Linked DNA regions of Homo sapiens: region 1 is linked to region 2. The links are contacts of gene promoters, found by promoter capture Hi-C in human tissues and cell types (Jung and others, 2019). All regions are on one chromosome and are shown on one strand. The core of a region is centred on a gene start or on the middle of the fragment in contact, and the rest is flanking DNA. Distances in the headings are between cores, read along the strand shown. Region 1 holds the start of MSS51 (MSS51 mitochondrial translational activator). Region 2 holds the start of SEC24C (SEC24 homolog C, COPII component).

What was found. Contacts are between HindIII fragments. The study calls those that stand out against the background at their distance.
Region 1: a contact is called between the fragment with the promoter of MSS51 here and the fragment with the promoter of SEC24C in region 2, in 1 of the 25 tissues and cell types used here (thymus).

The regions. Positions count from the first base shown.
Region 1 is chr10:73,432,008-73,437,434 of GRCh38, forward strand. MSS51 (MSS51 mitochondrial translational activator) reads right to left here and starts at 1,554. Exons shown (of 7, transcript NM_001024593.2): 1 at 1,506-1,554. It overlaps PPP3CB (protein phosphatase 3 catalytic subunit beta), which reads right to left. Exons shown (of 14, transcript NM_021132.4): 14 at 4,426-5,427. The HindIII fragment of the contact is 24,221 bases long and covers 1-5,427 here.
Region 2 is chr10:73,742,806-73,748,530 of GRCh38, forward strand. SEC24C (SEC24 homolog C, COPII component) reads left to right here and starts at 1,567. Exons shown (of 23, transcript NM_198597.3): 1 at 1,567-1,632; 2 at 4,000-4,199. The coding sequence starts at 4,028. It overlaps LOC124902453 (a long non-coding RNA gene), which reads right to left and starts at 1,460. Exons shown (of 2, transcript XR_007062195.1): 1 at 1,412-1,460; 2 at 159-406. RefSeq lists enhancers at 909-2,108, 948-1,515, 1,186-1,615, 1,516-2,082. The HindIII fragment of the contact is 12,749 bases long and covers 1-4,689 here.

The sequences.
Region 1 (5,427 bases), core at 304-2,803, 310 kb before region 2:
TACCCACCTGCCTCAGGCAAGATAACATTTTCTTTTTCTTTCTTTCTTTGAGACAGAGTCTCACTCTGTCACCCAGGCTGGAGTGCAGTGGTGCGATCTTGGCTCACTGCAACCTCCACCTCCCGGGTTCAAGTGATTCTCCTGCCTCAGCCTCCTGAGTAGCTGGGATTACAGGCTCGCGCCACCATGCCCAGCTAATTTTTGTATTTTTAGTAGAGATGGGGTTTCACCATGTTGGTCAGGCTGGTCTCGAACTCCTGACCTCGTGATCCACCCACCTCGACCTCCCAAAGTGCTGGGATTACAGGCATGAGCCACGGCGCCCGGCCAAGACACCACTTTCTTAAACCTTGAAAGAATGACTTTTTTTTTTTTAAATAGGTATGGAAGGAAAGTGTGATTTGAGACAACTCTAGGGTCTTAAATCCCAGAATTTATAATAGATATCTCCCTGAAGTTAAAACATAAGCCTTTTTGCTGCAATGGAAGCAAGCCACTTAAGGTCAGAAAGGTACTGCTTTACTTTTCCGCATTTCCAAGGTGAGGTCTTCCTCTAAAGGAAGATTAGCTCTTGGCAATCTGGGAGTTGGCTGAACTGGTCAGAAAGCAAAAGGATCACACAGTTTGAGGAAGAGGAGTGGTGGTAAAAATCCCTAATGTCACAGTCTCCTCTGTGTCTAGAGCACAATGTTCATGATACAAATGAGTTAGCTTTCTGGCAGAAAAGAAAGAAGGTGGGTGAGAAGCCAGGTCTTTGATCTGCATCTATATACATCATCAGGTTCATGTTTGAGTTTATATACCCCAGGCCCAGACACAGCTTCCCTGGTTCTAAATCTCCTGTAAAGAGCCCCAGGCTACTCCCTGTTCACAGGTTATAAACTGAGAGAAACAAAGGAAAAAACAGGGGACTCACAGGAGAAGCTGGAAAGAATTGCAGTAAGCTCTTTGAACTTTCCAGAGTCTAGAATGCTCTCCACTTAGAAAGGGAATCCCTTTCATTTTTTTCTAGCCATCCCCAGTGACTTAGGCTCTAATTTAGTCCCAGTATAAGAGAGAGAACACCAACACCAAGAACTGGAGAGGAGACATGATCTTGATTGCCTAGAAAAACTTTTATCCTTCATGTCCAAATTCAAGACAAAATATTAATCTATTCCTAGACCTAGGTTTCCCATCTTCTTCTTTACCACCAAGAGTCCCAAGTTTCACCTAAACTACAGTCATATTTTCACTATCTCCAGATAAGGAGTGCTCATCTAATTTTCTGTAAGTCACCAAAAAATGCAAAACGTCTTTGGAGAGGTAGGGAGAAGGAAGACTGAAACTGGTCATTGGAGATCCTTATAAGGGGGTAGGAAAAGAGAAGGAGAAATACATTAAGGACACTGTAATTATGGCCACATTCAGCTGTTTAATCAGTGATTAACACTGCCTGGGGTGATAAATACTTTACTCAATTATAAACTAAGCAAGCAGACAGGTTGACGGAAAAAAAAACTTACCCTGCTAAGTCCTCAGCTTCCTTCCTTCTCTCTTTCCTCCAAGTGAAATGAGTGCTTGATCTCTTCAGATCTAGGTTGTGGCTTACTTGCAGCTGTCCCTTCATATCACTTTCCTTTGCAAACTGCTGAAATGCTGAGTCTCAGTGATTAAGTGTGCCCTGCCAACCAGACAGACAAGGCTGAATTCTCCCTAATGAGGCAAAGAGGGATCTGTCCCCCTGCCTGAGGGCTTCTCTCTAACCTTTGTTCTCTGCCAAGGGGGCTCAGGACTGTCAACACTCCCAAGTGTTAGCCAAGTAAAGGCCAGGCAGGCTGACAAAAAATGAAACCTGCTGCTTCCTAGACTTCTCTCACTCAAGGCAATATTTCTGTTCTCAGTTTACAGCTTCAGAAGAAAACCCTTTGGATTAGTGCAGAAGTCAATATTTGATTGGAAAGGGTAAGCACCTTTCCAACCAAGTGGGAGGAACCAGAGGACCCTCTGGAGTTCTGTTTGTTGATCTAGACACAGGATGAGTTCCCCCAGGCCTGGTGTCCTTTTTCAGCATAACAAACATTGTTCAAACAAAACTCAACAATGTCCAATCTTGGATTAAGTAGAAGGGAGAAAATAAATGGCCATTTAATGGTACAGAATGAAATCAGTTGTAGGGGAAACATGCAGAATTAACTTGTAAAATTCACTTTCCCTGAAAGAAGGGTAAGATAACTCTCTGAGTGAGAGAGTCATCAGGAGCACTTTACCTGTATTAAGAGAGGAATAAATGCTTCTGGGATATTAAACAAAACCAAAATACTAGTTAATGACTAAAAATACATACTATTTCTAGGAAAAGAAAATAGAAAAGAATCAGCTCAACCATTCTCTTATCCTCCTTGTAATTGCAGCTGATCCAGGAAATTCAATTCCACAGTCCTAGCTTCTTTCTACTTACAGCTAGCCTATCTGAAGTTGTTAGGGCAGTGGTCCTAAAAGACTGCAAGATCTTTCTTACCCTCAAAAAATTTTTTTAAAATTTTTAAATAAAAAAGTTCTGACTTTCTGCTTATATCTGACCCCAGCTCTCACTTACCTGCTTCTTTGAACATCATCAAACTGGGGAACAGAATCACTCGCAATGAGGTCCCGGAATGTGGCAAATCAAATCCACACAGGAACCCCAAACTGTAAAAAGTACAAACTACATGCAGGGAAGGTGGAAGAAAAGTGTTAAGGATTCAACCAAACACTGCATAACATTATGTAGAATAGCTGTGGATAAAGGAAAATCAGTTGCAATAGGCAAAAACCCTAAATAAAATAGGGGTAATTCACTTTGTGCAAAAGTTTCAGGCCAACTTCAAATTTAACAGGCTTCAAAATTTATCTGAGAACCTCAAATGTTTTGAGTTCTGTTAATAATGGCTGAACTGCAGAAGATACAAGACATCAGAGATTGACTTTTCTAATTCAGAAGTTGTCAATGAATATAAAGGAGAATAGTAATATAGAAAAACTTTGATGTTGAATACTTATATTTTACTATCACTATGACTTGCTCTGGTAAACATTTAAAGTTACGAAGTCTGAACTTTTCACAATTTGTATTCATCATGAGTTGCATTTAAAAAATCTTAATAAATGGTATGCTGTGAAATGAATTATGAAGAAAGACTAGAAAGAGGTTCCTATTCAACATGTAGGAAGTGGTCTGTGAGGCACTATGTGATACTTTATCACTCTTCAGGTATTTTGCTTTTCCTGAGTTTGGTTCCTTTCTCTTATTTTCCTCTTAATTTTTACCATCAATCCATAGTTTTTTTGCTAATACTACTTAATGCTCACCCATGATTCCCACAAACACTATATAATGCTAGTTATGTACCTAAGGGCTAGGAAAGTTCCTGGCACCTAATATACTAGTTAAACTCTTACTTACTTTTTAATTTTTCTATTGGGTCTATTTTAGCCAGATAAACTCTTTACTGAATAGCTTTCATAAAACAACATCGACAACAATCTTTAAGGTATGCAACTTTCATAAACAACATAGACAACAATCTTTAAGGTATGCAATGCATAATAACTTTAGAGCCAACTCATGGACTGCTTTGTAAGTTAATATTTTGGCAAGCAGAGAGTTATAATAATTAACAATTTGTGGCCGGGTGCAGTGGCTGACGCCTGAAATCCCAGCACTTTGGGAGGCTGAGGTGGGCGGATCACGAGGTCAGGAGTTTGAGACCAGCCTGGCCAACATGGTGAAACCCCATCTCTACTAAAAATACAAAAATTAGCCAGGCGTGGTGGTGGGCACCTGTAGTCCCAGGTACTTGGGAGGCCGAGGCAGGAGAATTGCTTGAACCCAGGAGGCGGAGGTTGCAGTGAGCCAAGAGCATGCCACTGCATTCCAGCCTGGGTGACAGACAGAGATTCCGTCTCAAAAAAAAAAAAAAAAAAGCAAAAGAAAAAGAAAAAAGAAACAATTTGAGAAGTTCTGTTTGTTACCTGGAATTAGGCAAGCATGTGTGTGTGTGTGTGTGTGTGTGTGTGTGTGTGTGTGTGTGTGTGCGCTTGCCTAATATATTTACATATATTTTGTTTGTTTTTAAGGGATGGGGTCTCACTCTGTCACCCAGGCTGGAGTACAGTGGTACAATCATAGCTCAACACAGCCTGCAACCATGAGCTCCTAGGCTCAAGCAATCCTCTGTCTCAGCCTCCCAAAGTGTTTGGATTACAGGCATGAGCCACTGTGCCCTGCCTATATTTTGACTTAGTGTTTTATAATATATCTCATTGTAATTATTGTTGAGAACTATAATTCAAGTTATTGTATGATTATATAATTTTGAGCAATATCCTAATATCCCTCAATGTGCAAAATCCTATACTTATTGTGATTATGACAAAGAAGAAAGGAATGATAGGAAAATGCAATTATCACTAATATTTTTCTTATTGTTAGAACACCCAGTAAATTCCCAATACCACTATAACAAAATTCTAGACAATAACATATTTTCTTTCAATTAAAAGACAATAAACAGTGATCTTAAATATTAGACTTAGGAGGCCTACAGTAGGCATTCAAAGTCCTCTAGTGCTCAGTTACTAATGCTCATGTAAAACAAGTATATAACAAAAGTTTTTTTTAAGGCAAAATTTATAAAGAATTTAATTAATCAAATTACCATGAACTATCCACGAGATAATCTCCGGAGGACATCCCAGCTCTAGTAACAGGATTTTCTGATTTGCATCAAAAGGACAAATCAGATTGCATCTTCCAAATAAAACCCAACACAGAGATAGGAGCAGCGGCCCATGCATGGAATTTATTGTGTGCTACTGTTTATAAAATACTCGAATAGTCCTGCACATGCATAATATTTCCAACTTAGACAGGAGACCATACAGGGTGCACTTTCTGGCAAACAAAACAATAGATGGTTCCGCTGCCTGGAGCTCTGAGTTGTATTCCAGGGCATGAGGGAAGCAGGCCACCAAAGTAAAGGGAAATACCAAACTACAGTGGCAATCAATACAGGTCAATAATTGTGAAAAATTAGCACATGGTTCCATTTAGTTTAACCAAGCAGTTCAGTAACTATCAAAAGAAAGGTTTCAACATGCAGTCTTGACTTTTATGCTTCCACTAACATCTGAATGATTGAACAGAACCATTGCTTCTAGGCTGCATTGCTTAATCAAAAACACTTCCAGAACATTTTAAAATTTCCTTTGCATTAAAACATAAAAATGATAGAAAGCCAGCAGCAAATCACCCTGGTGGCTCTCTAAGCAACTTGAGTACTCACAATAAACTAAAATTTCTCATAACATCTAGGTAACCTATACATGTCGTACCTGTACATCATAGGTCTATATATTAAATATTTGCAAAATGAAAACATGCATACACAAAATACGTCAAGTTTT
Region 2 (5,725 bases), core at 317-2,816:
ACACTTTTGTTCACTGCTCTATTTCCAGACCCAAGAACATGGCTTGGCACACAATGTCAGCGCTCAGTGGGTTCACCCTGCCTGCTGCCTTGACAAAGCTGATTTATCAAGACCAGGGAATTGCAATGGAGAAAGAGTAATTCACGCAGAGCCAGCTGTGTGGGAGACCAGAGTTTTATTATTACACAAATTAGTCTCCCTGAGCATTTGAGGATCAGAGTTCTTAAAGATAATTTGGCGAGTAGGAGCTTGGGAAGCGGGGAGTGCTGATTGGTCAGGTTGAAGACGGAATCACAGGGAGTCAAAGTGAGGTTTTCTTGCTGTTTTCTGTTCCTGGGTGGAATGGCAGAACTGATTGAGCCAGGTTACTGGTCTAGGTAGTCAGCTGATCCAATGAGTGCAGGGTCTGCAAAACATCTCAAGCACTAATCTTAGGTTTTACAATAGTTATGTTATTCCTAAAAGCAATTTGGGGAGGTTCAGACTCTTGGAGCGAGAGGCTGCATGTCCCCTAAACTGTAATTTGTAATCTTGTAGCTAATTTGTTAGTCCTGTAAAGACAGACTGGTCCCCAGGCAAGAAGGGGGTCTTTTCGGGAAGGGGCTATTATCAATTTTGTTTCAAACCATAAACTGAATTCCTCCCCAAAGTTAGTTCCACCTACACCCAGGAATGAATAAGGACAGCTTAAAGGTTAGAAGCAAGATGGAGTCGGTTAAGTCTGATTTCTTCCACTATCATAATTTCCTCAGTTGTAATTTTGCAAAGGCAGTTTCAACAGCAGTGCTCGAAAAATTATGAAATCAACAAATAGTACTGAAAAGTTCAAATGAAGTCATATATGAAAAAGAAATCCTAGCACTGTTAGCTATAATTACTTAGCCATTAAATGGGGTACTAATAATTACTGCAGGAACTATCTTTTCCAACAGAGCGCAGAGATCTTTTGGCTCTGATAAAGCTCTGCACCTAAACAAAGGCGCTGTATAAAAATGGTTAATAACAATTGACCTTTACTGAGTGCTTACTATGATGCCAAGCGGCCTATGTGGCCTAATTTCATCCTCTGGGCATTATTATTTCCATTTTACAAGCTGTAGAGCCAGACCTCAGACCCCCACATGCAGGTTGACAACAGTTGGTGCCCTTTACCACCACCACACGTTCCGCAAATCTCATAACCAGCAAACGCCATGGGTGAGAGCAACCTAGCGGACGGAAATCAACGGGGTCAGGGGTCACCAGGAAGTGACTACAAGACTCTAGCTCAGAGGTCACTAATACGTCACAGGCAGAGTGAAGGGGCATTATTAAAGATAGTTTGACAAATTCTTTTTAATCTCATTTCTGTTGGTGAGGCCATAAAGTGACTGGAACATCTGAAAAAAAATGTCAGGAGGGAAATACATACGACTCAGCAGAGGCGCACAGGCGGCGGCCATGATGGGAAGATGAAAGAGGCGCATGCGCGGCATCCGGGTCCCCGAAATGCAGACGTGGCAGAAGAAGTGGCCCGGCCCTAAAGCGTGGAGGAGGAACTTCCGGGGGTGACGGGACGGCCCCCTCGGAACCGGAAGTGGAGCCTGGGAGCCTTGACGTTAGGAACGAAGTCTAACCTGGATCTGGAGCCGGGTGAGGAGTGGCATCGGGAGGTTGGCGGGTAGGAAAGCAAAGGAGAGGTCAGGGTATTACTGGCCAGATTGGGGTCCGGTTTCAGAAAGAAGGGAGGAGCCTGGGGGCGGGGCCTGGGTAGAGACCCTCACCTCACGCATCCACCATCCAGGAGCAGGTCCTAGACCATCCCTTCGTCTCCCGGCCCAGATTCCGGCTCCTGCTTCCTGCCCCGAGCCTGTTAAAAGGTGCAAGACGTTTGGTCTCTGTGCTTAACAGAGCAGCCCCCTCTCTTAACGTGGCCCTAGAAGCCGACTTGGCTTCTCGGTTTTGATCCTCGGCTCTCCGAGGCTCCATGGCTTGACTACTTTCAGAGTTCTAGGAAGCTTGCCCCGCCCCCTTGGGTTGTCACCCTCGACTATCCACCCAGAATGGAGTCGAGACTTCAGTCTGACTCCAAGCTCTTGAATGTGTTTGAGGGGATTATTTTCTGGAGAAGAAGCTCCTTTCTTTACCCCTCCCCCCGGCTTTGGAAACATAAAGGGAGAGGACATATTTTAAACTTAGTGTCAGTGACCTACCTCTGTAAGGTTTAGGGTTTGGAAGAACAGCTATTGAGATAACTTTGAGTTTAAAGAGTTTTAGACCAGGATCAGCTCCTTTTCTATAGTCAAGGTGGCCCTTCTAGCAAAGGGGGAGAGGTCCATTGTTCCCTTTGCAGCAACTCTGAGTGCTCCTGCTTTCTGGGCCCCTTCTGTCTACAGGATAATTGGAATGATACAGCTGTTGAAAGTAGATGTGATGAGATAGTTTTCTTGGAAGGACCCTGTTTAGAAAAGGCCCTCTAATTCATCCCTGTGTTGATGAGCAAGATTGTAATAATTTTGATGGTGGCTGAGATTCATAACAATCGTAAGGGGAGCAGAAACAGGAGAGTTGGAGAAGTGCATTGGAATTTAGAATATTCATAGTCTTCTGCTTGAGGGATGAGGTGAATGATTTTTTTCCATGAAATCTAACTCTAACTTTGCCCCTGATTCTTGAACTGTTTCCTCAGATTATGTGAAGAAGTTTTGGTGCCTGTTCTGCACTTGGTTTTAATCTGTTACCTTGCTAGAGTTTTCAGGTGTCCTTTATTTTTTATTTTTTTGAAAGGGCGTCTTGCTCTATTGCTCAGGCTGGAGTGCAGTGGCACGATCTCGGCTTATTGCAATCTCCGCCTCCCGGGTTCAAGCGATTTCTCCTGCCTCAGCCTCCCAAGTAGCTGGGATTACAGGCGTGTGCCACCATGCCCGGCTAGTTTTTGTATTTTTAGTAGAGACTGGGTTTCACCGTGTTGGCCAGGCTGGTCATGAACTCCTGACCTCAAGTGATCTGCCCGACTTGGCCTTCCAAAGTGCTGGGATTACAGGCATGAGCCACTGTGCCTGGCCAACTTTTATTGATTTTAATGCTTCGGTTTTGGCCGGGCGTGGTGGCTCACACCTGTGATCCCAGCACTTTGGGAGGCCAAGGTGGGTGGATCACGAGGTCAGGAGATCGAGACCAGCCTGGCTAACAGGGTGAAAACCTGTCTCTACTAAAAATACAAAAACTAGCTGGGTGTGGTGGCACGCGCCTGTAATCCCAGCTACTCGGGAGGCTGAGGCAGGAGAATCGTTTGAACCCAGGAGGTGAAGGTTGCAGTGAGCCGAGATCGCGCCACTGCACTCCAGCCTGGCAACAGAGTGAGACTCCGTCTCAAAAAAAAAAAAAAAAAAAAAAAACCTTCAGTTTTAAGGTCCATACACTCTTTTGGTGGAAAGACTTGGGTTGGAGTATCATTTGTATTATGGCAGTTTAGCTAAAGAATGTCATTTCTGTAACTCAGCCTAAATTTTGTCATTGAGGGGGAAGGATTTTAGCAGATCTGTTTTAGATTTTTAGCCTGATTGATTTTAAATCAATTGTTCAGCACACTAGAGGGTACTCGATGTTTGCTGAATGAATGGATGCTAGAGTGAATGAATGGAAAGTGGGAACATTGTTTCTTTCACCTGTAACATCAAGGTAGTTCATCAGCCACAAGACTGTGTGACTAGACACTAGAAATCATACCACTGGGGAATGGAGGCTGCTGCTCCATTTCAGTGGATCTGTCTGAAGTTGAAATTTATACTATTTAGACAGTGACAAAGGGTGGATGGTCAGAATAACAAAATCCTTGCTTTTAGGAGATAATCTGAATGCTGGCTGGGGCAGAAAATTACTAAGATCCTGTGGAAGTGTGAGGATTATTAAACTGATCACTGTCTGATAAGGTCAATTTCTTTTTATCTCTACTTCCTGCCCTGAATAGTTGCTCTCTTTAGAAAGTTCATTTTGACTAATTTCTCCTCTCTCTCACAGGTGAGATCAAATTGGGAATGCTTTCATAATGAACGTCAACCAGTCAGTTCCACCTGTGCCACCATTTGGGCAGCCCCAGCCCATCTACCCAGGGTATCATCAGTCCAGCTATGGTGGGCAATCAGGGTCCACAGCCCCCGCCATTCCCTATGGAGCCTACAATGGCCCAGTACCAGGCTATCAGCAAACACCTCCCCAAGGTATGTTTCTGTTTCTGTTTCCTTTGAGCTAGGGAGGGAAATCAGCAGAGTCTTCAGGTTGGGTTGTATTGCTCTAGCTAAGCTACCTGAGAAGTTTGGATAACTGGGATTGAGGAACATAAATCTGGCCCTGTGTAGCTGAGAGCCCCGTGGGCGCCCTTCCCTTCCCTTTTTTTATTATTATTTTAATTTTTTTTTGAGACAGTTTTGCTCTGTCACTCATGCTGGATTACAGTGGCATGATCTCAACTCATTGCAACCTCTGCCTCCTGGGCTTAAGCACTTCTCCTGCCTCAGCCTCCCCAGTAGCTGGGATTACAGGCATGCACCACCACGTCCAGCTAATTTTTGTATTTTTTTAATTTATTTTGAGATAGAGTCTCTCTCTGTCGCCCAGGCTGGAGTGCAGTGGCACCCTCTTGGCTGCAACCTCCACCTTCCAGGTTCAAGCAGTTCTCTGCCTCAGCCTCCTGAGTAGCTAGGATTACAGGCATCCACCACCACACCAGCTAATTTTTTTGTCTTTTTAGTAGAGATGGGGGTTTCACCATCTTGGCCAGGCTGGTCTTGAACTCCTGACCTTGTGATCTGCCCGCCTCAGCCTCCCAAAGTGCTGGGATTATAGGCGTGAGCTACCGTGCCTGGCCTGTATTTTTTTTTTTTTTTTTTTTTGAGACAGAGTTTTACTCTTGTTGCCCAGGCTGTAGTGCAGTGGCACGATCTCGGCTCACCACAACCTCCATCTCCTGGGTTCAAGTGATTCTCCTGCCTCAGCCTCCCGAATAACTGGGATTACAGGCATGCACCACCATACCCTGCTAATTTTGTATCTTTAGTAGAGATGGGGTTTCTCCATGTTGGTCAGGCTGGTCTTGAACTCCCAACCTCAAGTGATCCACCCACCTCGGACTCCCAAAATGCTGAGATTACAGGCGTGAGCCACCACACCTGGCCACTGTTTGTATTTTTAGTAGAGATGGGGTTTTACCAGTGGCCAGGAAGGTCTTGAAGAACTGCTGACCTCAAATGATCCACCAGCCTTGGCCTCCCAAAATGCTGGGATTACAGGCTTCAGCCACCACGCCCGGCCCCTTCCCTGTTTTTTTATTTTATTTTACTTATTTTATTATTTATTTATTTATTTATTTTTTGAGACAGTCTCGCTCTGTTGCCCAGGCTGGAGTGCAGTGGCACAATCTCGGCTCACTGCAACCTCCGCCTCCCAGATTCAAGCAATTCTCCTGCCTCAGCCTCCAGAGTAGCTGTGATTACAGGCTCCCGCCACCATGCCCGGCATTTTTTGTATTTTTAGTAGAGACAGTGTTACACCATGTTGGCCAGGCTGGTCTCGAACTCCTGACCTCAAATGATTCACCCATCTCGGCTTCCCAAAGTGCTGACATTACAGGCATGAGCCACCACCTCTGGCCTTATTTTTAATATTTTTTGAGATGGAATTTTGCTCTTGTTACCCAGGCTGGAGTGCAATGGCACAATCTCAGCTTACTGTAACCTCCGCCTCCCAG